Linked DNA regions of Homo sapiens: region 2 is linked to region 1. The links are contacts of gene promoters, found by promoter capture Hi-C in blood cells and fetal thymus (Javierre and others, 2016). All regions are on one chromosome and are shown on one strand. The core of a region is centred on a gene start or on the middle of the fragment in contact, and the rest is flanking DNA. Distances in the headings are between cores, read along the strand shown.

Evidence for each region. The method cuts DNA at HindIII sites, captures the fragments that hold promoters and counts their contacts. A CHiCAGO score of 5 or more calls a contact.
Region 2: a contact is called between a fragment that was not itself captured here and the fragment with the promoter of TAF10 in region 1, in 1 of 17 cell types (non-activated CD4 T cells). The highest score is 5.8, in non-activated CD4 T cells.

What each region holds. Positions count from the first base shown.
Region 1 is chr11:6,610,533-6,614,658 of GRCh38, forward strand. TAF10 (TATA-box binding protein associated factor 10) reads right to left here and starts at 1,684. Exons shown (of 5, transcript NM_006284.4): 1 at 1,426-1,684; 2 at 1,132-1,286; 3 at 856-920; 4 at 657-771; 5 at 1-479. The coding sequence starts at 1,657. The coding sequence ends at 390. TPP1 (tripeptidyl peptidase 1) reads right to left here. Exons shown (of 13, transcript NM_000391.4): 13 at 2,236-4,126. The coding sequence ends at 4,014. ILK (integrin linked kinase) reads left to right here. Exons shown (of 13, transcript NM_004517.4): 13 at 1-338. The coding sequence ends at 79. RefSeq lists enhancers at 299-887, 888-1,475, 1,931-2,060, 2,111-2,160 and silencers at 1,331-1,530, 1,541-1,640. The HindIII fragment of the contact is 6,165 bases long and covers 1-2,575 here.
Region 2 is chr11:6,448,143-6,455,774 of GRCh38, forward strand. It overlaps TRIM3 (tripartite motif containing 3), which reads right to left. Exons shown (of 12, transcript NM_033278.4): 8 at 3,129-3,296; 9 at 2,750-2,918; 10 at 2,409-2,479; 11 at 1,164-1,304; 12 at 471-1,038. The coding sequence ends at 886. Among named protein-coding and RNA genes, the nearest start is that of HPX, 11 kb to the left of the region's middle. The HindIII fragment of the contact is 1,344 bases long and covers 4,184-5,527 here.

The DNA of each region.
Region 1 (4,126 bases), core at 434-2,933:
CTGCATGAATGAAGACCCTGCAAAGCGACCCAAATTTGACATGATTGTGCCTATCCTTGAGAAGATGCAGGACAAGTAGGACTGGAAGGTCCTTGCCTGAACTCCAGAGGTGTCGGGACATGGTTGGGGGAATGCACCTCCCCAAAGCAGCAGGCCTCTGGTTGCCTCCCCCGCCTCCAGTCATGGTACTACCCCAGCCATGGGGTCCATCCCCTTCCCCCATCCCTACCACTGTGGCCCCAAGAGGGGCGGGCTCAGAGCTTTGTCACTTGCCACATGGTGTCTCCCAACATGGGAGGGATCAGCCCCGCCTGTCACAATAAAGTTTATTATGAAAACAGGCTGGTGTGGGGACATGGGGACAGATAAGTACATTTAGGTTGGGTGGCTCAGGTGAAGTAGTGCGGCTTCTTCACATTGATGCCATACTCGCTGAGGGCAGGGGTCAAGTCCTCCATGGTTAGAGTGTACTTGCGGTCCTGAGGGAAGAGGGAAGAGCACCAACTGAGCACAGGAATCCCGGACTTCAATCCCAGATGGGTGACCCTGAGTAAGTCTTACACCTCCCCTACGATTCAGTTTCCCCAAAGGGGTGGCAGGATAAGCCTCCACTGTTGTGGAAGGTAATTACTGATTCATTAAGCCTCCCCTCACACCTTGCTCTTGCTCCGGGAGCTGCCGGAGGCCGTGCCCTTCATTTTGCAGTGCTGTAGGGCATCATTGGCAATATCTGAGATGAATTTCTGGGCAGCTAAGGAGATGAGCCGAATTCTAGAGAGAAAAAACTTAGATGAGAAGGAGATGGACAACATACTGCACAAGCACCCAAAACTAACCTGCCCTGGGTTTACTCACATGCGTGGGTCTGAGGCCTCAAAGCCAGCACGGTTCAGGTAGTAACCAGTCACTGCATCTGGGATCTGAGAAATCAATTAAGAGAACTGTCAGCAGAGCGGGAGGAGGGTGAGGGAAATGGATAGGCCTGATTATCAGGAAGCTCACAGTTTGGGTGAGCAGAGGGCAAACACAGAAGAGCGACTAGGGGAGCAAATGGAAGAGAACGCTGAAAAGCACGATGTGGCTGAAAGTTTTGACAGCAGGCTAGGTGGCCTTGTTCGGGCGGAAGCCCACCGTAGGCGTGTAATCTTCCAGCTGCATCAAGAAGTCCACCAAAGGCGTGCTGGACACCACGGGCTTCACGTCTCCGTTGGCCGCGCTCGGCAGTACGTAAACCCCGTTAGATATGGCCCCCTCCGGGGGCGCCGCGCCACCCGCCGACACCGGAGCTGGAGGAGAACCAGCAAAATGAGACACAGAGGTGGGAGGCGCAGGGCCCCAGCTAGGTCTGTCTATACCCTCTGCCCTCACCCGCCGCTGGACCCAGCCCAAGACGCTTCCCTCGCCCTCACCCGTCCCGGCCCTCACCCGCCCCACGCCGCTCAGCTGGCTCCCCGGCCCGCGCCGCCAAGGGTCCCGTGCCCCCAGCAGCTGCTCCAGCCCCAGGTCCCCCCGCTGTCCCCGCGGGGCTGGCCTTGTTCTCCGCGGCGGTGCTGGAGGGCAGCGCGGCGGGAGCCGAGACCGGGGGCGCGGGGCCCGGGGCCGAGGCGGCGGAGGCCGGCGCCGCCTCGGGGTCCGCGCCGGAGCCGCTGCAGCTCATCGGGCCGGTGGGAGAGGCGGCGAACAGAGCCGCTTCCGCTTCCGCTCGCGCCGCGCACACCCCGGGGTGACGTCACGCGCCCACGACTCGCCCCGCCTGTCTCTGTTAGTGCTCTCCAGCCCGCTCCCCGCCTCCTCCCATAGTGGATCTGCGGGTTAGAGGAAATAGGCTGCAGGGCGGAGACCGAGCCTTGGCGAACTGCGCTGCCGTAGCCATTCCGCCCTAGCCTCTGCCGTGCTCCGCGGCGATTCCGTCCAGACCGGAACCAGCGTGCGTCTGGCTCTCCTCCGCCGCTCTGGGACACCTCATTCTGTCTGACGCTCAAGACCTGGCTTCGACGTTTATGGCCCTATGTCCCTCGACTACGGGTTGCCTGCCTGTCTGCATCGTTTCAAGTTCCCTTATTCAGCCTTTTAAGGATTCATAGTGGATTTGGAAAGCCCCCTCTCTTCTCCGCCAGCTGCCCCGAGAGGTGGGGGCAGCAGTGGGGCGGCACACAGTGCTGCTGTAGGAGGAGGAGGAGTTTCAGCCTGAGTCAACAACATATGCAAAAATCACAACGAATGAGAGGCGTGAGGTTTTCGGTGTAGCAGACATTTAATTCTTATTTGCCAACTCCTGAGCTAGGACCTGGGAACACAAAGTTAAATAGGACACGATTCTAGTCCTCTAGGCACCAACGGTCTTGGAAAGGAAGGCAGACAAGTAAACTGGCCATTTCAATACTACGTGGTCGTTACAATGCTAGAGGTAGGCACAGGGGGCGCAGTGCAAGGGAGGAAGGGCGTTAACATCTGCCACCTACTTCCAGGTGCCAAGCACTGTTATCAACATTATTCCACTTTATTCCCTGGTGATTATGAAAGGCAGGTATTGATATTCACACTTAACAGACGAGGAAACAGCCTCAGGGAGATAAGCTTACTTGACCCAGTCTCTCTCCTAGTCCATATCAGAACCAAGATTCAAACAGGTTTTGTTTAGAAAATCTAGGATTTTTCAGCCATACCAAAATAAAGTAGCCTCAGGGAATCAAAACATTCACGAAAGAAGGTGACTTCTGAACTGAGTCTTGCAAGAATTCTGGAAATTAACCTGGCAGTTGTATCAGGGGTGGTAAGGGGACGGAACAGCTTGAGCAAGAGTGAGAGTTCCTTGGGGTTTGGGGAGGGAGGAGGAAAAATGATTTTTTACTTAAGAACAAATAGCAAGGAAGGTTTGTGAGCTATGATTGGGGGCTGGAGGGGAAAGCCTGAATTCTATCCAGTAATCCTTGAAGGGTTTTCATCCAAGTGGCCTGATGGGATTTGCATTTTACTCTGGAAGATGACTTGGGGATTGGCAGGAAGTAAGGACACTTTTTTTCAAGAGAATATAGCCCTAAACTAAGGTAGTAGCAGTGGGGATATAAGTGGATAAGTTCTAGATATACTTGGGAAATATAATTGGAAGGACTTGTGGACTGATAAAGATATATTTAAGATGTGCAGTCAGTAGGACTTGTTGATTGAGGACTTGTTGATTGAAGGTGGGGTGAAAAGATGACACAGGTTTCTGGCTTGGTTGGAAAAAGCATAGCATCATTTACCAAGAAGAAACGAGATGGAATTGTTTGGGGTTGGGAAGGTGGACGATGAAATGTTGAGTATCACGCATCTTACATTTGAGGTATCAATCATTATTGGATAGAAAGTCTTATTTAGTGAGATGGTAATGGTTGTAGATGTCAGTGATTTGTTCCAGGGGACAATGAGTAAACTGAGAAGAGCAAAAATCTACAAATGGAGCAATGAAGGTCAGCATTCCATGAAGAAGCAGAAATTGATGAGAGAGGAAGACAAGAGTAGTCAGAGAAGTTAAGACCTGGAAGCTAAGTAAGGAGAGGGAGTGGGCAACTATGATGGAAAGGCCATAAAGCAAAGATTGAGAAGTATGCACTGGAGGCCATTGTTTCTGGATGTCAGGGTAGGAAAGAGTAAACGGTGACAGTAGAGGTCTCCTTGCAGTGAATTGGGGAATGAATATCAAGTGAAATAGTGCACAGAGTCTGTATACAACCCTTTGGAAAAGCCTGATTGAAAAGAGAAAGATGAGATGCGGAGGGAGAGGCATTCAAAAAATGCTAGTTACAGCATCTTATTGAGGAATCTAAGGCAGGAGTAGGGAGACCTGAGTATGATGGAGCATGGTAGGGTTGGGAGTCAAGTCAAGCTCACAGCATTTCAGGGTTAGGGAGATAAGCTGTCTGCAGCAGTCAATAGTTGAGGGTTCAGCAGGGCTTCCAACAGGGCAGAATAAGGGACTGAACTGCCAGCTTCAGGGCAGGGGACAAGCCATCTCTCCTGATAGGAAAGGGTCAGGGGTTGAGTAGAGTCTTCAGCAAAGCTGGGAAGTTGGGTGTTCCCCAGCCTGTTACAGGATCCCAGCCAGGACCAGAGCAGAAACCCTGGCCCTCTACCTCTTCATCCA
Region 2 (7,632 bases), core at 3,606-6,105, 160 kb before region 1:
GAGAAAGGGGATATGTCAGGGCTCCAGGGATTCAGGGATGACTTTTAAAATTAGCCATGGAGTCTCCCACACGTAGCTACCACCTGGGCTAGCCTCAATTCCCTTGCCCAGGCTTGAACTTCAAAGATTGCTTTCATAGCCTGACACTGTTCTCTCTGCACCTACTGGCTGTGTGCTGGGCAGAGGTCATTCCCTCACCCCCCCAACCCCACAATCCTTCCCAGCCCCAGGGCAGATAGGCAAAGGACTTGCCTACTTCTGTAGGGCCTGGGGATGGGGATATGGCAGGTGGGTCAGGGTCCCATGGGTTCACCCTTTCTTGCTCTTCTCTACGGAAGTTTCAAAATATCAGGACCTGCTTGGGAAGCTGGGTCCCTTGCCTGCCTGCTTGCCCACCTTTTAGTCCAGAGCTAGTCCCACCATCCCATCTCCTCACTGCAGCCCCACCCCACAAGAACCCAGCAAAAACATCTTGGTGAAGACATTTATTTAATATGGGGGGTGGGGTATTGCTGTCTCTGTCAGTGTGTATAGGGTGGTAGGGAGACAACTAGAGGGACTCCTGTCCTGGGGTAGGCTGTTCTGGCCCCAGGCTGGGGGATGGGGAGCAGACTGACAGGGGTGGGGAGGTGTGTAAGAAGGGTAGGGTGAAGCTCTGCACACATCCTTGGGACCACAGTCCAGGCTCACCCAGTCACCAAAGCAAGAACCGAATAAATAAAGTGCAACCGTGGGGGTGGGGGTAGGAGAGGGAGGGCACCGGGTGCACCCATGCCCACAGCCCACATTCAGTGCTGCCAGGTCTGGCCCACCTCCCAGCCAGACCCTCTTGTCCAATCACCCCAATGTCTGTCCCTCCACAAGCCAGGCAGGGCCTCTGTACAGCTACTGGAGGTAGCGATAGGCTTTAAAGCAGTGGTTGCCAGCATCAGCCACCACCACATGGCCATCCGAGGTCAGTGCCAGGCCCTGTGGACCATACAGTGGTTCTGCAGATGTGTTGATATAGGACAGGAAGGAGCCAGAGCTGTCGAATACCTGGGGAAGGAGTGCAGAAAGGAGGGAGAGGCAAGATCAGGCAGATGAGAGTCTGTTTTGGGGGAACGGGCATATGGGACACACCAGGAAACCGCCCCCTCATGTCATTCCCAGGCCTTACTCACCTGGATGCGGCTGTTGCCCCAGTCAGCCACAATGATGTTTCCATTGGAGTCCACAGCTACTCCTGTGGGGGCATTGAACTGCCCATTGCCCTCGCCATGGGAGCCAAACTTGAAGAGGAACTCTCCATCGGCACTGTACACCTGGCGGGGGAAGGGGCTAGGGACTGGGGACCTGGCCTCAGGCAGAGGGTAGGGCTTTGGAGGAGGATAGGGTGAAGCCCCAGGGCTGAGAACCCCCACCCAGATCTACAGCTACAGCCCAAATCTGCTTCATAGGCTTCACATCCATGTGCCCTACTGCCTAGTAGACATCTCTTGCTGATGTCCATTGGGAATATCAAATCTAACAGCTCATTTTCTTTGGGAAATCAGTTCTCTTAGTTCTCTATCTCAATGACTGGTGCCACCCAGCTGGCCATGAGTCACTCTTGACTCCAATTTCTTCTCTGTTTGATAGGCCAATGAATTAACACAACTCTTGATTCCATCTCAAATCCCTCTCTCAAGTCTATACCCTATGCATACACTGTCTCGTCTTTCTCACGGTCCAGGCTCACATCATTTCTCATCTGGATCACTGCAAAAGATTGATCTTCCTGTCTCAGTCTTGCCTCAGCCTGAGTGATCTAAGACACACAGGACTGCATCACTCCCCTGCCTGCAATCCTGTGACTCCCCATAGCTCTTGGGAGGAGAGCAAGCCCCTTAAGGGGGCACACAAGCCTCACTCTCAGCTTTCACGGTCCCCTCCTCAAGCTGAGTCTGAACTACTTGTGATTTCTCGAACACACTATTAAGGTTCCCACCTTGCATTCTTGGCTCTTCCTGTGTCTTTTGTCTCAAACACTCTCGTCCTCCTCTGCCTTCCATTTAATTCCCACTTGTGCTTGAGGTCCTCCTCATATAGTCTTTCCTGAATCATACACTTCTGTATCCCTTCCCACAGTTCCCTGCACCTTCCTATCACAGAATCTATTACATCATATTGTAATTTTTTGGTTACCTTTTTCTCTTCCCTACTAGACTATAATCAAGAAGACACAGAATACATTTGCTTTGTGCATCACTGTATCTCCAGCTTCTAGCATACTGCCTGGGACAAAGCAGCCATGCATAAATGTGTAAATGTGTATTGTTTGAGTGAATGATCTCAAAGGGGAAAAGGAGGAGGTAAAATAGAGAGGAGTCTTGTGGAAGAGGAAAGGATGTTGGGACAGTGGTCACGGAGGGAGGGAAGACACTGACCTTCACTGAATGGTTATGGAAGTCCGTTACTACAATTTCATTCTTGTTGTTCACAGCCACAAAATGGGGCCCTGAAAATACAAAGTGGTCTTCAGGGCAGTAAGCTGGGATGCTGAGTGGGATGGGGAAGAGTATCTGGGAAGATAAAAGCTAGGGTGTTAGGAGAGGGGTGGGGTCTCCAGGACTGAGACAAATTATTTCTGAGATGATAGGGCTAACGTAAGGGAAGTGGGATCTCCAGAGCCAAGATATAGGAGGAGAGGGCCTTTACAGCTGGGGTATCTAGGGGAGTTCTCTGGAACAGGGGTATCAGCATAGATCTTGGAGCTGTCCCCCTATACCTGCAAAGTGGCGGTCAGTGGCCCCACGGCCCCCAAAACGGCCAACCAGTTTGCCATTGGGCTGGAAGGTAAAGACGCAGCAAGACTTGTTGTCGACCACAATGATATGTCCATTCCGGTCTACGGCCACTCCCTTGGGGCCCATGAGGCGGCCAGCTCCAATCTTGGTCTGGAGGAAGAGAATATCCATAAGAGGCTTTATTCTGACAGTGGGGAAAGTAGTCCTAACCCAGTACCAAAGCAGAATCTTGGGCTGGGGAAAGAACAGGGAGTAGGAGGAGGTAGGATTGGATCAGTCCAGACCCTGACCACCAAGAGGCACTAGACTGGTCAGTTCAGCTGGACACCAGGGTAAGTAAAGTGACAGCAGGCCTCTCACCTTGAACTTGCCCTCAGGGGAGAAGATGCTGACCCAACGGTTGTCATAGTCTGCCACAATTATGTCTCCATTGGTGTCCACTGCCACACCTGTGGGGCGCTGCAGCTGCCCAGGTGAGCGTCCTCGGACCCCAAAACGGAACTTGAACTGGCCCTCATTGGAGAAAACCTGGAGCAGAGGAGCAAGGGGAGGGAGCAGGTAGGAGGGGAGACACTGTGGGCACAGACAGAAGGGAGTAGGATCCTGAGGGAGGAGACCCCCCCACCACCATTTATTCAGTCATTCAACAAGCACTTACTGACAAAATCAAACATGGCAGCAGGTCTGGGGCAATGCAACAGAGATATGAATGGGATTGTGAGAACATGAAGGGATGAAGGGGAATGGTGAGAAAAGGCTCCAAGAGAAGAAGATGTCTGAACAAATAGCCTAATGAGGATGCCACATAAACCAAATTCGGCCAGGAAAGGAAGAGGAAAGGCATTCAAGCAGAGTGAACAGATTGTAAAAGGCACAAAGTCCAGTATGGGCACCACTTGAGGACTTGTCCAGTGTGGCTGGACTGCAGGGAGCACCCAGGTGAACAAAAGAAGGAATTATGTTTTATCCTGGGTGTAATGAGGAGTTTCTTAACATTTCTAGGCATAGCAGTGACAAGATCAATTTTGCTTTTAAGAAAGAACATTCTGGCTGTAGGGAGAAGTCAAGACTACAAGCTAGCTGCCCAGTCAGAGGCTGTTGCAGTATTCCAGTTGAGAAATGATGATGGCTTGGACCAAGGAAATTGGCTGGAGGGACGCAGATGGACTCAAGACATATGTAGGAGGTAGGCTCATGAGACTTAGTAGCAGACTGGAATGGGGTAGGTGAGAGAGGAGAAAGTATACAAGAATTAGTCCATTCAGGCTATGGGGCTGACAAGGAAACCTTCCTCCTACACAGAGTGAACCTTTCAACCTCTCCCTTCTCCAACCTCCTCTAATTTAGCTGCCCAATATGCTCAGGTCTCCCCATCCCAAAAGCACCTCCTTTAATCCTCCTTCCCACTTTAGCTAAGCTTTCTGGCTTTTCCTTCATAGTCAAAACATTACTCACTACATAAGTCTCATACACTCTGCTTTGTTATAGGCTCTGGGGACACAAGATGAACGAGAGCCAGGAGCAGCCTTGGAGAACTCAAGTTCTGGGCATTGGCCTTGCTCTTGGATTCAAATCTGTGCCTTCCTTAATGGACTGGTCTCCCCGCCCCGGCCCCACCCCAACTCCATCTCTTAGTCCTGCAGGGCTGTTTAAACTGGTCCCACCAACAGGCATCACTTTCTTCTAATGTGGACCTTCTACTAAGCTCTTCTCTGGCTGACCAGCACAGCTCTTGGGTTCTGCAGTGGTCCCCTGTGGCAGGACAGCACTCATCAGTATGAGAAGGGAGATACCATGAGCTCCACGAGCTAAATAGTAGAAGTGAGGGGGCACTAAAAGGTACAGTTTAGCGGTGAGGTAATGCCCCTCCAGTTTGAGCAGCTCAGGTTCTGGCTCAATACTGATGAGGCTTTGGGATGTCTTGTTCTTCCAGTCCCAGCCTATCCCACCCCTGACACCTGGCCAACTCTTACTCATCTTTCCATTCTTAGAATTTCCAGGTCACTTTTTCAGAGAAGACTAATGACCAAGTACCACCCTCCGCCCTACCAAATCAATATGCACATATAAACTTAGGTCACCAGGATATATGCTTTACAGCTCTCTTCATAACAATTATCACTTTGCAGCTAAATAACTGTTAAATATCGGTGTCCCCTTCTAAGGATGTAAGCCTCGCATGGCATAAGGACTGCATCTGTTTTGTTTGCTGCTGCACTTGCAGCACTGATATGGCATTTGGCACATAGTAGGCATTCAACAAATGAATGAACTCCCCAGCTCAATCTCAGACCTGAACTGGACATCTCCACTTGAATGCCGCATAGCTATCTCAAACATCTGCAAAAGTGAATTCATCAACTTAAACCTGGGCCTGCTCCTGAATGGCAACACCATCTACCCAGTCCACAAAGTCCTGCCATTCTTGACATTTGACGATTTAGCAAAATCTGCCATTCTTGCTTCCTTAATATCTCTAGAATCTGCTGGTGTCCTAGTTTGGTCCTTAACATCTCTCTCCTATACCATGGTATCTGAAAGTAGATCCCTGACTTCAGGGATCTCACAGTCTAGTGGGGGAGAAAGACTTAAACCAAAATAAAACAAAACAAAACCAGACAAAAACAAAAACAAACCAGTGATTCCAGTAAAGTATGAAAAGTACTATAGCAAAAGGCTGAGGGAACTGAGAAGAATGTGATTTAACATTCTGCCTAAGGGAATGAGGGAGTTTTCACAGAAGAGCTGATAAAACTGGAAGCTTAGACAATTACACAAGGACATAATATATACAAATCAAATTATTAATTCAGAATCACAAAATGTTTTTTGTCTTCTGTCAACTGATGCTGGTTCCACTCAGTGAGGTCTGCCTCATCCTCCACCATAGAAGTGTCCAAAAGAGAAAACGGTCATGTCGTGAGGACCCCAATCCCCATGTACTGAGAGGAGGAGGGGGATCAGACCTCATCAGGGAGCCCAGCCCATGCCAGCCCTAAGGACTCCAGAGTAAGAGAAGCAGAAATTCAACTTAGAAATCTGAGCCAGGCTCCTAGCAGTGGCGACATAGAGGGCAGGTGGAAGTAGAAGCAAGAGGAGGACTGCTATAGAAGTAGCAGGTGTTTGGAAGAGAGTGGAGCTATACCAGGTGTTCCCTCTCAATTCCCCACTCTGAAACAATGGGGAGGCCAGGTGCAGTGGCTCATGCCTGTAATCCCAGCACTTTCAGAGGCCAAGGCAGGAGGATAGCTTGAGCCTAGGAGTTCCAGACCAGCCCAAACAATATAGTGAAACCCCGTCTTTACTAAAAATAAAAATAAAATAAAATAAATTAGCCAGGTATAGTGGCATGCGCCTGTAGTCCCAGCTACTCGGGAGGCTGAAGTAGGAGGATTGCTTGAGCACAGGAGGTCAAGGCTGCAGTGAGCTGTGATCATAGCACTGTACTCCAGCCTGGACAACAGAGACCCTGTCTCAAAAAAAAAAAAAAAAACTATGAGGAAGTTCAGCCCCCTCACCAGGACAGACAAAGTGGCACTTGTTTTTCTGTGCATGTGAGCAGTGAGCACACCTGTGTGTGTGCACAACAGAGAAGGGGTCCCAAATCTCAACTTTTATGCCAGGAAGCATTCCCAGCCTAGGGAGTTGGAAAGGAGCTGGAAGGTGTAACTGAGTAGGGAACTGAGCACCACCTCATTACTCCCCCGCAATCCCCTCCTCACTATCCAGGCTGGGCCCAAATGCCTTCCTGTGCTGCACAGGGCCTCTCCATTCCTCTGCTCTTAGAAATAGGGTAGGAGTAAAGGACGACTGGACAGAACTGGGAATATGGCCACAGAAGAGTCCCTTGCACTTTTAGACTGTTAGGTGAAAAGCAGGGGTCAGAGAGTAGCCGTCACTGAGGGAAAGGACCTTAGCAGAGCTGGATCGATGACATGAGTACTCAAGCAGGGTCAGGAAGTTTAAACGTATAGGTGTTTAGAAGTAAGGATCTTCAGCGAAAAGTTTTGCTACCCAGTAAAATGTTTCGAAGAAGTAAAGTGCATGGTAGTTAGAAACAATCCCCTATAGGATAAAATCAAAATTCCACACTCCATCTCCAAAACCAATTACAATCTGACCTCAGCTACCCCTGGCTTCTAATAGTAATCTACCTCCAGGCCTGCTGGGCTCCTTCCAGTTCCCTGAACCACCTCCTCCAGCACTTTCCCACCTGCTTGCCTTTGTTTACAGCCTCCACCTGGACGATGATATTTTTAACAATAGCTAACATCAGAAGTTTCACTAGATGTCAAGTATAGTACATCATTTAACACTCCCCGCAACCCTATCAGATATACTTTTCCTAATTTTACACATGAGTTAACTGAAGCTCAAAGAGGTCATGTGACTTGTTAGTATGTGACAGAGCTAGGATTCAAGCTCAGGTGTCTGGTTTCAGAGCCTGAGCTTTTAACTGCTCTGCTGTGTCAACTACCCTGGTGCCCACTGTACTAGGCTCTGAGCTTTTACTACAAGAAACAGAGGGAAAAAAAGGCACATTTCCTGGCTTTGAAAAGGAGCTCACAGTGCAGCAGAAACCATGTTCATTCAGTGCGGTTGATGCCATAATCAGGTGTATGAGGTTATGGGAGAGGCAGTGGGAGGACCACCTGCTACAACTTCTAGCCACTGAAAGATACCCCCTTTGGCCAAGATACCCCTATGCAACTGTCTAGCCAACCTGATAACTGCAGAGACTCCAGACAGACTACATACATTCAGGAGCCAGGCATGCATGTTGGAAGACACGGAGGGCAGGCCACCAGGAGAAAAAGGGAGAAAGTAAGAGGCTCAAGGAGAGGCAGAAGGAAAGGAGGAATGA